Regions from separate parts of the Homo sapiens genome. Here all the other regions are linked to region 2. Evidence: promoter capture Hi-C in 16 types of primary human blood cells and fetal thymus (Javierre and others, 2016). All regions are on one chromosome and are shown on one strand. Each heading gives the region's core, a stretch centred on a gene start or on the middle of the fragment in contact. The rest is flanking DNA. Distances are from core to core; before and after follow the strand shown.

What was found. Contacts are between HindIII fragments. The CHiCAGO score rates a contact against its expected background, and 5 or more counts as called.
Region 1: a contact is called between a fragment that was not itself captured here and the fragment with the promoter of FBLN7 in region 2, in 1 of 17 cell types (activated CD4 T cells). The highest score is 5.1, in activated CD4 T cells.
Region 3: a fragment that was not itself captured here is called in contact with the fragment with the promoter of FBLN7 in region 2 in 1 of 17 cell types (non-activated CD4 T cells); the score reaches 5.3 in non-activated CD4 T cells.
Region 4: a contact is called between a fragment that was not itself captured here and the fragment with the promoter of FBLN7 in region 2, in 1 of 17 cell types (activated CD4 T cells). The highest score is 7.3, in activated CD4 T cells.

The regions. Positions count from the first base shown.
Region 1 is chr2:112,317,944-112,320,807 of GRCh38, forward strand. All of the region lies in intron 7 of ZC3H6 (zinc finger CCCH-type containing 6), which reads left to right. Among named protein-coding and RNA genes, the nearest start is that of ZC3H6, 44 kb to the left of the region's middle. The HindIII fragment of the contact is 2,371 bases long and covers 373-2,743 here.
Region 2 is chr2:112,137,079-112,139,778 of GRCh38, forward strand. It overlaps FBLN7 (fibulin 7), which reads left to right and starts at 1,307. Exons shown (of 8, transcript NM_153214.3): 1 at 1,307-1,652. The coding sequence starts at 1,578. The HindIII fragment of the contact is 8,502 bases long and covers 986-2,700 here.
Region 3 is chr2:112,336,164-112,338,863 of GRCh38, forward strand. It overlaps ZC3H6 (zinc finger CCCH-type containing 6), which reads left to right. Exons shown (of 12, transcript NM_198581.3): 12 at 1-2,700. Among named protein-coding and RNA genes, the nearest start is that of ZC3H6, 62 kb to the left of the region's middle. The HindIII fragment of the contact is 2,195 bases long and covers 192-2,386 here.
Region 4 is chr2:112,299,677-112,302,376 of GRCh38, forward strand. It overlaps ZC3H6 (zinc finger CCCH-type containing 6), which reads left to right. Exons shown (of 12, transcript NM_198581.3): 2 at 173-353. Among named protein-coding and RNA genes, the nearest start is that of ZC3H6, 25 kb to the left of the region's middle. The HindIII fragment of the contact is 950 bases long and covers 880-1,829 here.

The DNA of each region.
Region 1 (2,864 bases), core at 308-2,807, 180 kb after region 2:
TCTATCACAGACAAAATGTTTACATATATGGATTTTTCTTCTGGACTTCGTGTTTGGCTCCATGGATTTGTTCACCCTCATGTCTGTCTTGCTTTGCTGTGATTATTTCTGCCACAACAGCCACGGTAATATTTGGTAGATTCTGATGTTTATTTTTCCAGATAAATTTTTAAATTCTGTTGTCGTGTTTAAAAAATGTGAAAAAAAAGAAAGTGAATAAAATGAAAAATGCCTGTTATCATAGATCAAAATGTCAAAAAATGGAACGATGTAATTACCAGAGGAATACATGATGAATTGGAACAGAAAAATTTCCTGTCTCAAAATCCAGAAGCAAAAAGGGAACAGATTGAAATTTTGACTCCATGAAAAAGCTTGCATTTGCAAAACAAATACATATAACATGAGCTAAATAATAAGATAAATAATGAAGTGAGAAAGATTATGTGTAATTTATATCACTTACGAAGAGGTCATATCCTTAATATATGAGTTTCTAAACATTGAGAAGAAAAATGAGGGAAGAGATACAGATAATTCCCAGAAAGAGAAATGCAAATGGTCCCAAAACATACAGAAAGATGTTCAATCTTGTTCCTAATAAGGGGAATGTAATTTAAGCTACACTGAGATAACATTTGCAGCTGTGTCACGTTTGCAAAAATAAAAAAATCGTGACAGTGAAGTTTGTTAGCAAGGATGTGAGAAGACCTTGATGCTGGCAATGTCAAAATGGTGCATTCCTATGGAGGAGAGCTTGGTAAATGCAATATGCATTTACCCTTTGACCCAGCAATCCCACGTTTTGCAGTTTCTCCACAATAGACCTGGGCAGTGATTACTGATGGCTGCTAAAATCATGAGGTGAAAAGTTAATTAGGAACTTTACAACTGATGGATGGAGCTGACAACACCTGAAAGGACTGATCAGTCTTAACATTACTAAAAAGAAACAACCAGATATTAAATGCCTTTTGATATGATACAGTAGAGAGTATTTGAATACCATCTATGACCAATATTAAAATTAACAAATGATACAAAAATAAAAGGGAAAGGGGAACTTCTAGAAATCAGTAAAAGTAACTTGGGAGATGTATTAACTAGATACAATTTGTGGATCATCTTTATGTCCTGATCTGAAGAAAGGAATTATAAAAACATACTTTTTTAAAAGTCTGGAAAATTTGTATATTGACTGGTTACTAGTTGAAATTAACACATTAATTTTGCCAGGGTGGTAATGAAGTCGTGATTGGTAAGAAAAAGTATTCCTGGCCAGGCATGGTAGGTCACACCTGTAATCCTAACACTGGGATGCTGGGGTGGGAGGATTGATTGAGGCCAGGAGTTGGAGACCAGCCTGGGTAACATAGTGAGACACCTCCCCCACTCCCATAACTAATTTAAAGAGGAAAGGGGCCAGGCACGGTGGCTCATGCCTGTAATCCCACCACTTTCGGAGGCCAAGGCGGGTGGATCACCTGAGGTGAGGAGTTCAAGACCAACCTGGCCAACATAGTGAAACCCCATCTCTACTAAAAATACACAAATTAGTTGGGCATGGTAGCGTGCACCTGTAATCCCAGCTACTTGGGAAGCTGAGGCAGGAGAATCGCTTGAACCTGGGAGGTGGAGGTTGCAGTGAGCCAAGATGGTGCCACTGCACTCCAGCCTGAGCAACAGAGCAAGACTCTGTCTCAAAAAAAAAAAGGAAAGAAACAATAGTCCTTATGTTGAGAATAGGTATGGAAATATTTACAACAAATGATGAAAGTTGTTGAACCTATGAGGTCAACATGAGAGGGACTTCATTTTATTATTCTCTCTACTTTGGTATGGTTAATGACCTTCAAACAAACTTAGAAAAAAAATCCTAAGTAATGTCATCCTACAGAGAACCATACTTGGAGTATGGCATAAAGCCTTTCAGACTTTTTTTCTATGCTGGTATGTATGTATGAATGGATGTGTATATGTTTATACACATAATTTTTTATTTTTGTGAGACGGAGTTTCACTTTTGTTGCCCAGGCTGGAGTCCAATGGCGCGTTCTCCGCTCACTGCAACCTCTGCCTCCCGGGTTCAAGCAATTCTCCTGCCTCAGCCTCCCGAGTAGCTGGGATTACAGGCATGCACCACCACGCCTGGCTAATTTTTGTATTTTTAGTAGAGATGTTGTTTCTCCATGTTGATCAGACTGGTCTCAATCTCCCGACCTCAGGTGATCCGCCTGCCTCGGCCTCCCAAAGTGCTGGGATTATAGGCGTGAGCCACTGGGCCCAGCCTATACACATAATTTTTTAGAAAAATGAAATCTATAATGATTGTGAATATTGTATTTTTAAATTTAACATTTACATTAATATGGACTGTATTTTAATACACAGTGTGTTAATAAGGACCTTTATTCAGATGATTAACTCATTGTCTTATCTTTACTGATTTAAAATGGCATCTTCACCAGACCCTAAATTCTCATTTGTACACAGTTCTGCTTCTATACTACTCTTATCTATTGTGGTATTTGATTATTCACCTCTGTAAGAGTATGTTTGATATTTGGTAAGGCAAATACTCCTTCCTTTTTAAAAAAAATGTTGTAATAGTCTCAGGTCAGAAGTGATTTGGCAAATAATAAAAACAAATAAAATGTAATGAATTTGTCCTATTCAAGAAAAATAAATTTTTTCAGATTTGACATATTTCTTTAGAAAGCAAATACTTTATTCTGTTTCTGAAAGCTTTCCATCTATTCTTATGGGGTTTTTGTTATATAGTCATGCTGTTTGTAAATAATAATAATTTTACTTCATTTACAATATTTATACCTCTTATTTAATTTTAATTGTATTGGCCACAT
Region 2 (2,700 bases), core at 57-2,556:
CCCGTTCCACCTCCTTTGCATGGGAAGGTTGGGGGAGCAGCACTGTAGGATTTCCTGGGCAACCAATGCCCAGGAGGCCAGCCTAAACCATGTCCCCTGCTTTTTGGGGCACTGGCTAGGTTCTGAATGTTGGTGTCTCCCCTAAATTTATATGTTGGAAACCTCATTCCCAAGATGATGGCATTAGGAGGTGGGACCTTTGGGAGGTGACTAGGTCATGAGTGCAGAGCCCTCAAAATTGGGATTAGTGCCCTCAGAAAAGAGGCCCCAGAGAGCTGCCTTTCCCCTGTGAGGACACGGGAACCAGAACTCTGGCCCTCGCCAAACACCTAATCTATTGACACCTTGATCTTGGACCTCCCAGTCTCCAGAACTGTGAGAAACACGTTCTATTGTTTATAAGCCACTCAGTTTATGGTATTTTGCTATAGCAGTTTGAAGGGACTAAGCCAGGACTCCAGCTTTCCTTTCTGGCCTCTGCTGGGAAACAGCTCCTGCTCTGTGGTCACAGTCTTGTGGGCTCCCCGTTCCCTGAGCTCTGAGTGGGCTCAACAAAGTGAAATGTGGAAGAGGAAAAAGAGATCTGGGGCTTGACCAGACTTGTGTGTCCCAGGACATCTGCAGTGACTGCCTTCAGAAAACCTTCCAGGAAGAACGTCAGTCATGCCTTCCGGGAGCTCAGGTCTGAGGCATCTGGTTGTACCACAGCCCTGATGGCAGGGGACTTCAGACTGCTCATGCCGGCCTGGCACTTCCTGATTCGACTTCAGCAAGGCAGGCAATGTTCTAGAACCTGACCTCCGATTTAAACTGAGTTTCTCCTTCCCTTGAGCAAGGAGGACAGTGAATCAGAAGGACGTAGATCCCCTCACTGTATCACTGTGTGTGTATCTACTCACTGTGCGTGCGTGTTCTCACGGCCCCATTGCATTATTTAAAGGGACACTAGTTTATTCGGATGGAGAGCTCAGTCCACCCCACGTCAAGCTTATGAAGCCCATTTCCTGGCCCCCTTCTAGGAATGTCGGGAGGAGGGTGTCGCGTGGGCTTTGAAGTAGGACAGACCTGGGTTTGGGTTTCTGTTCTGCCACTTGTCCTTGGTGACTGAGCCTCAGTCTACTTGGTTGGGAAATAGGACGGTCGGGAGTGAACCCGCCCAGGGTGGGCTTCCAGTCACCCGCACATATGCGGGGCACTGGCCGCCCATCCCTGCCAGGCCCCGAGGATGCCCGCGCTCGTCCTCGGCGTCGCGGGTTGGGCGCGCTCCCGGGCGCATTCCCGGCCGGGCAGCCCCTCCTCCCTCGTCCTTAGCCCAGGGGCCGGCGCCTCCCCGCCTCGCGCGGACTGTCTCGTGCGGGCAGCTGCGGGCGCACCTGGACCCTCGCAAGGCCCGGGCGGCGCCGATCCCCGCGGGACGCGCTGCGCTCGGGGCCTCCCGCCTCCCCCCCTGCCCCAGCCGCCCCCCGGCCGCGCGGCGCCCCGCACCCTGCAGGGACGGCTGCCGCATCGCTGGGACAAACTCGGCAGCGGAGGCAAAGTTATTTCCCCTCCCAGGCAGCGGGATTCCGACTGGCAAGATGGTGCCCAGCTCTCCGCGCGCGCTCTTCCTTCTGCTCCTGATCCTCGCCTGCCCCGAGCCGCGGGCTTCCCAGGTCAGTGTCCCTCCCGCCTCTCTCCAGGCCAGTGTCCCTCCCGCCTCTCTCCAGGCCAGTGTCCCTCCCGCCTCTCTCCAGGCCAGCGTCCCTCCCGCCTCTCTCCCCTGTCCCTCCCGCCTCTCTCCCCTGTCCCTCCCGCCTCTCTCCAGGTCAGTGTCCCTCCCGCCTCTGTCCCCTGTCCCGCGCGCCTCTCTCCACGCCAGTGTCCCTCCCGCCTCTCTCCAGGCCAGCGTCCCTCCCGCCTCTCTCCAGGCCAGCGTCCCTCCCGCCTCTCTCCAGGTCAGCGTCCCTCCCGCCTCTCTCCAGGCCAGCGTCCCTCCCGCCTCTCTCCAGGTCAGCGTCCCTCCCGCCTCTCTCCAGGCCAGTGTCCCTCCCGCCTCTCTCCAGGCCAGCCAGTGTCCCTCCCGCCTCTCTCCACGCCAGTGTCCCTCCCGCCTCTCTCCAGGCCAGTGTCCCTCCCGCCTCTCTCCAGGCCAGTGTCCTTCACGCCTCTCTCCAGGTCAGTGTCCCTCCCGCCTCTCTCCAGGCCAGCGTCCCTCCCGCCTCTCTCCAGGTCAGCGTCCCTCCCGCCTCTCTCCAGGCCAGCGTCCCTCCCGCCTCTCTCCACGCCAGTGTCCCTCCCGCCTCTCTCCAGGTCAGTGTCCCTCCCGCCTCTCTCCAGGCCAGTGTCCCTCCCGCCTCTCTCCAGGCCAGTGTCCCTCACGCCTCTCTCCAGGTCAGTGTCCCTCCCGCCTCTCTCCAGGCTAGTGTCCCTCCCGCCTCTCTCCAGGCCAGCGTCCCTCCCGCCTCTCTCCAGGTCAGCGTCCCTCCCGCCTCTCTCCAGGCCAGCGTCCCTCCCGCCTCTCTCCACGCCAGTGTCCCTCCCGCCTCTCTCCAGGCTAGTGTCCCTCCCGCCTCTCTCCAGGCCAGCGTCCCTCCCGCCTCTCTCCAGGTCAGCGTCCCTCCCGCCTCTCTCCAGGCCAGCGTCCCTCCCGCCTCTCTCCACGCCAGTGTCCCTCCCGCCTCTCTCCAGGTCAGTGTCCCTCCCGCCTCTCTCCACGCCAGT
Region 3 (2,700 bases), core at 39-2,538, 200 kb after region 2:
TAGGAAGCTCCTAGGGACCAGGATATGAGATCTTAAAGAGGCTGTCAGAATCTCTTCATTTGCATGACATAGAATCTGTGGTGGAGATGTTTTCCCTGATGTTTTTGGAGGGTTGGACTGTGTTGAAGGCTGTACCTTGGTGGGGGTGGTCTGCAGTCATGCAGTCCACTGATAGGGTCCCCCACCCCGCAAGCTTCAATAATTGAGCTTTCTGTTAATTTCTTGAATTATCTTTTCAAAAATGGTTTGGCAGCACTTGATGACATTATGTTCAAAATTAAGTCCAGTAAAATATATAAGCATTTGTAAACTATAATTATAGTTTAAATAAGACTTAGTTTAGGAAATCCAAGTTTTGACATATATAACCAAACGGCCTAAGAGTTCAAAGCTATTTTCTTAGGTGTTACACCTTAGCATTTACATAATGCCTTCTCCCCAAGCAGTTTCATGTGGTTTGCAGAAAGTTTTGGCAGCTACCAGTCACTATATTGCTGGAGTTTTGTGTTTGAGTATGTCATTTATGTCATTTATCAGCAGTATCTGCCAGTTGTGACAAAGCCCTCCCTATTATCCTGCCTTTCCTGGAAAGGATACAGACCCAAGAAAAGTTAACATCTACATAGTACTTAGAATTTCTAATTTTAAAATAAGAAACAAAAAGCACATTTAAAATAATATTTTATGCTTTTGGAGACAGGACCCACATGTATCTCCTTATTTTTATACTTGCCATAGAAACAAGCCTAGTTGTAGGCCTACAGTGGGTGCTTTGTTAACTGCTTGTTGATGGCTTCCTGACATCCATCCAAATGTCACTTTTACAGATGCTGTCACCCGTTAAACAGGTGTGGCAGAAGTATTCCATGACTGCATTAGGAAGAATGCACCTTATGGGTTATATCTCTTTTGGTAGACAGCCCACCTGCTCTTTTTTGTCCCCACCCTCAGCCCAAGCAATGTGAAGACAGATTATGGCAACTTAGGAGCTCCATGTTTCCATAATAATTCATAACTTTAAGAGTCCTCCAGACTTACAAGATTACTTCATGGTGAAAGTTTGGATTGATCAATAATTTATTCCTATAAAGGTCTGCAGGATTTTTTCTGTAACCAGAAAAGTAACTGCATAGCCATTCTTTTTTTTTTTTTTTAATTTGTTGTTGTTTTTGTTTGAGACAGAGTCTTCATTCTTGTTGCCCAGGCTGGAGTGTAATGGTGCAATCTCGGATCACTGCAACCTCTGCCTCCCAGGTTCAAGTGATTCTCCTGCCTCAGACTCCCAAGTAGCTGGGCTTACAGGCACGTGCCACCACACCCAGCTAATTTATTGTATTTACTAGAGACGGGGTTTCACCATGTTGATCAGGCTGATCTTGAACTCCTGACCCCAGGTGATCCACCCGCCTCAACCTCCAAAAGTGTTGGGGTTACAGGCGTGAGCCACCGTGCTCAGCCTGTTTTTTATTTATTTTTTTGAGACAGTCTCACTTTGTCGCTCAGGCTGAAGTGCAGTGGCGCTATCAGCTCACAGCAGCCTCCGCCTCCCAGGTTCAAGCAATTCTCCCACCTTAGCTTCCTGAGTAGCTGGAACTACAGGTGTGTGCCACCACACCCAGCTAATTTTTGTATTTTTTTGGTAGAGACAGGGTTTGACCATGTTGGCCAAGCTGATCTTGAACTCCTGGCCTCAAGTGATCCACCAGTCTTGGCCTCTCAAAGTGCTGGGATCACAGGCATGAGCCACCACGCCTGGCCCAGTCTTTTTTTTTAATTATTATTTATTTTTATTTATTTATTTTTTGAGACGGAGTCTTGCTCTGTTGCCCAGGCTGGAGTGTAGTGGCATGATCTTGGCTCACTGCAACCTCTGCCTCTGGGTTCAAGCAATTCTCCTGCCTCAGCCTTCTGAGTAGCTGGGATTATAGGCATGCGCCACCACAACCAGCTAATTTTTTATATTTTTGGTAGAGACACAGTTTCATCATGTTGGCCCGGCTGGTCTCAAACTCCTTACCTCAAGTGATCTGCCCGCCTCAGCCTCCCAAAGTGCTGGGATTACAGGCGTGAGCCACTGTGCCTGGCCAGTCTTTTATTTTAAAATAAATACTTAGTCCTAACCTAGTGAATTATCAATAGCATTTAAAATTCCTTCTATCCTGATACCATGAACAGTAATTTTCCCTTTTAAGTTATGATTTGACTCTAATTTTGGGTCTTGTATCTGGTCTTTAAACACCTTTCGTTACCCTTTGGAATAGAACAATCATGCTACTGTTAGCAAAATTATTGTAGGCATAAGGAAGAGCTGTGAGTTCAAAGAAGATTGTGAGTTCTTGGAATAGTATTTTACAGCGTTGTTTATTCTTGACCTTCTTGTTTTTTAAGCTTAGAGTTTATAAGAAAAAAGTGAATATATAGCTAATTATAGCATTTTAGAAAAAATTAGCTCTGCAGATAGTCAGGCCCCATACTTCTTGGCTCATTACTGATTTTAATACCTTCATGAGAGTATTAAGGTTGAAAGGAATGGTGAAATTTGCATTATCAGAGGTCTGATATGTAATTTATTGTAAAGAAATTAAATATATAGAGGCTCAATTAAAAAATAACCATATTCTCAAACCTCCATTACCACTAATATCTTGGGGTTGTCAATGATAGACTATATATATATGTATGTATATGTGTGTATATATA
Region 4 (2,700 bases), core at 105-2,604, 160 kb after region 2:
TGGCCTGCAAATGTAAAATATTTACTATCTGGGCCTTTATAGAAAAATTTTTCAAGTGCTTGTCTAAATGAATATAACATAAATCCTTGGCATATGCTTTTTTTCTTTTGAAAATCTTTCTGTAAGATTTGTTTTAGAATGATATTTGAAAATTAAAATTTTCCTTCTATAGAGAAGATGGCGAATTAGAAGATGGTGAAATAGACGATGCAGGATTTGAAGAAATACAAGAAAAAGAAGCAAAAGAGAATGAAAAGCAGAAAAGTGAGAAAGCCTACAGAAAATCAAGAAAAAAACATAAGAAAGAGAGAGAGAAGAAAAAATCCAAAAGGAGAAAACGTGAGAAACATAAGGTTAGTTAGAATCTACTTTTTATTCTTTTGATAAATGTTTATGAAATATAAAATACTGAAAATTAGAAAGTAGAAGTCATTATTTTATTATAAAACATGTGGATTAGATATTTTCATTTATGTGATTAAACTTTCTAAACAAAGATTATATGAATTATCTTAAAGATTTAAAAAGTAATTAAGTTAAATCTTTTTTTTTTTTGAGATAGGGTCTATTGTCCAGGCTTGAGTGCAGTGGCACAATTTTGGCTCACTGCAGCCTTGATCTCCCAGGCTTAGGTGATCCCCCACTCAGCCTCCTGAGTAGCTGGAACTACAGGTGCACACCACCACACTTGGCTAATGTTTTATTTTTAGTAGAGACAGGGTTTTGCCATGTTGCCCAGGCTGGGCTCAAACTGCTGGGCTCAAGTGATGTGCCAACCGTGGCCTCCCAAATTGCTAGGTTTACAGGTGTGAGCCACCACACCGGGCTTCAAGTTAAATTTTAACGCAGATTGAAATAAATAATATTTTAATTGATGGAAGCTTGTATACATGGATATTGGAAGATTAAGGAAAGAGAGTTTCATTCTCTACAGATACAGATTAGCAGCATTGGCATTGTCCATCTATTTATTATTCATTTAGGTATATGATCGAGTGCTTACTATGGAAACCTTTATGCTGTATGCTGAGGGTTATAGTAGTGAGTGAAATAGTTGGCTCTTAAAGAGTTTACATTGCAATGGGAAAGCTATGAAAAAAACAACAAGGTACTGGATAGAGAATTATGTGGATTTGGGGTAGGGAAGAAGGGGAACCTATGCTGACTGAGAAATCATGGACAAGTTGGCAGCAATGTAGGAGCAGGTTTTGAAACTCCCTGAATTTCCTCCATTAAAATCACATCAATTAGGATAACACAACCAAAACCCATTGACAACATCTACAAAAAAAGGAAGAAACAAGTTATCTCTAATAAACCTAAAAAGTACAAATGACTGGAGCCAAACGATAGACAGCAACAAGAGCAGTGTAACAACAGCATCAGTACAAATGAAGCAGAGGGAAAATAAAGGGACTTCCAGAAACCAAGTTGCCAACAGATATTCACCTCAAATGGTCAGTGCCCAGCACGGAAACCTCATGGGCCTGAGAACAGCAACAGAAACTGGGAGGGGGCTGTGCTATCACCAGTTCATGCATGAATGTAAGGTGACCACAGAAATTGGATGGTGCTGAAAAGATCTGGACCTGATGAACCCCAAATATGAATCAACCAAATTCCTTTTTATGACAGAGTCCCACACTGAGGAGGTAACTGCTGGAAGTAAAGTCTACATTGAGAAACAGGCATATAGGGCCAAGGAAAGAAATAGTCAGATAACAAATGGGGGAAGGAAGCAGAAGAGGCATAGCTCAGAAAATAGCCATATTTTTGAATACTTCATGCTAACAACAGAAGAGATAACCCTAGAGCTATGAAGCTAGGAAAGCTTTATTGGCCCATTCCATCCATTTTTTTCACATGAGAAGCAAGATAAGACTATGGTCACATTCCATAGTTGTTATTGTAAGATAAAAGAGAATAATGGAGAGTAAGTCTTCCAGAAAAGAAAGCATGCCCACAAAGCATATGAAAAATTTAACCTAATATTTTAAAATGACAAAAAATTAAGAAAACAATATAAGCTATGCTCAAACAGCATAGAATAATAACAAAACAAAACAAAACCAAAAGGAAGTACTTAATAAAATTATAAGCAGAAGTGAATGAATTAGAATGAAAACCAATAGTTTTTTAAAAAAGATCAACAACATATATATCATTGACCAAACTTATCAATAATAAAAGGGAAAAGAAAAATAAATGTATATATGCTGAGGGTGAAATAACTATCAAAAAGGAAATTCAAATCATAAGAAATTTATGTATATAATTTTATGAAAATAAATATTAAAAGCAAGATGAAATGGAAAATTTTCTAGAAAAGTACTACCTAACAAAATTAATTCTAGAGAGTCAAAAAGTCTGAGACTTTTTGGAGTTTGTAATCTACCCTACCAAGAAACACAAGGACCAAATCTTTTCAGAGTATAATTCTATTAGTATTTTTCAGGTGAAAGGTTTTCCTTAGAGCTGGAGCTGACTTCTGATGGTGACTGAGCAAACATGGCTTTTAAATAGACACTATTTATTTTAAATCCTAGCCAAGAATGATTAGATACTTAAAGTTGAAGCATTTGACAGCATAATTATAAAAATATTTCTTTATGTCACCTATCAAATCAACAAAGACAAAAGCAATAAAATCATAAAAACCAAACTCCAGACCATTTAGGAACAAGATGGAGGAAAGCAATT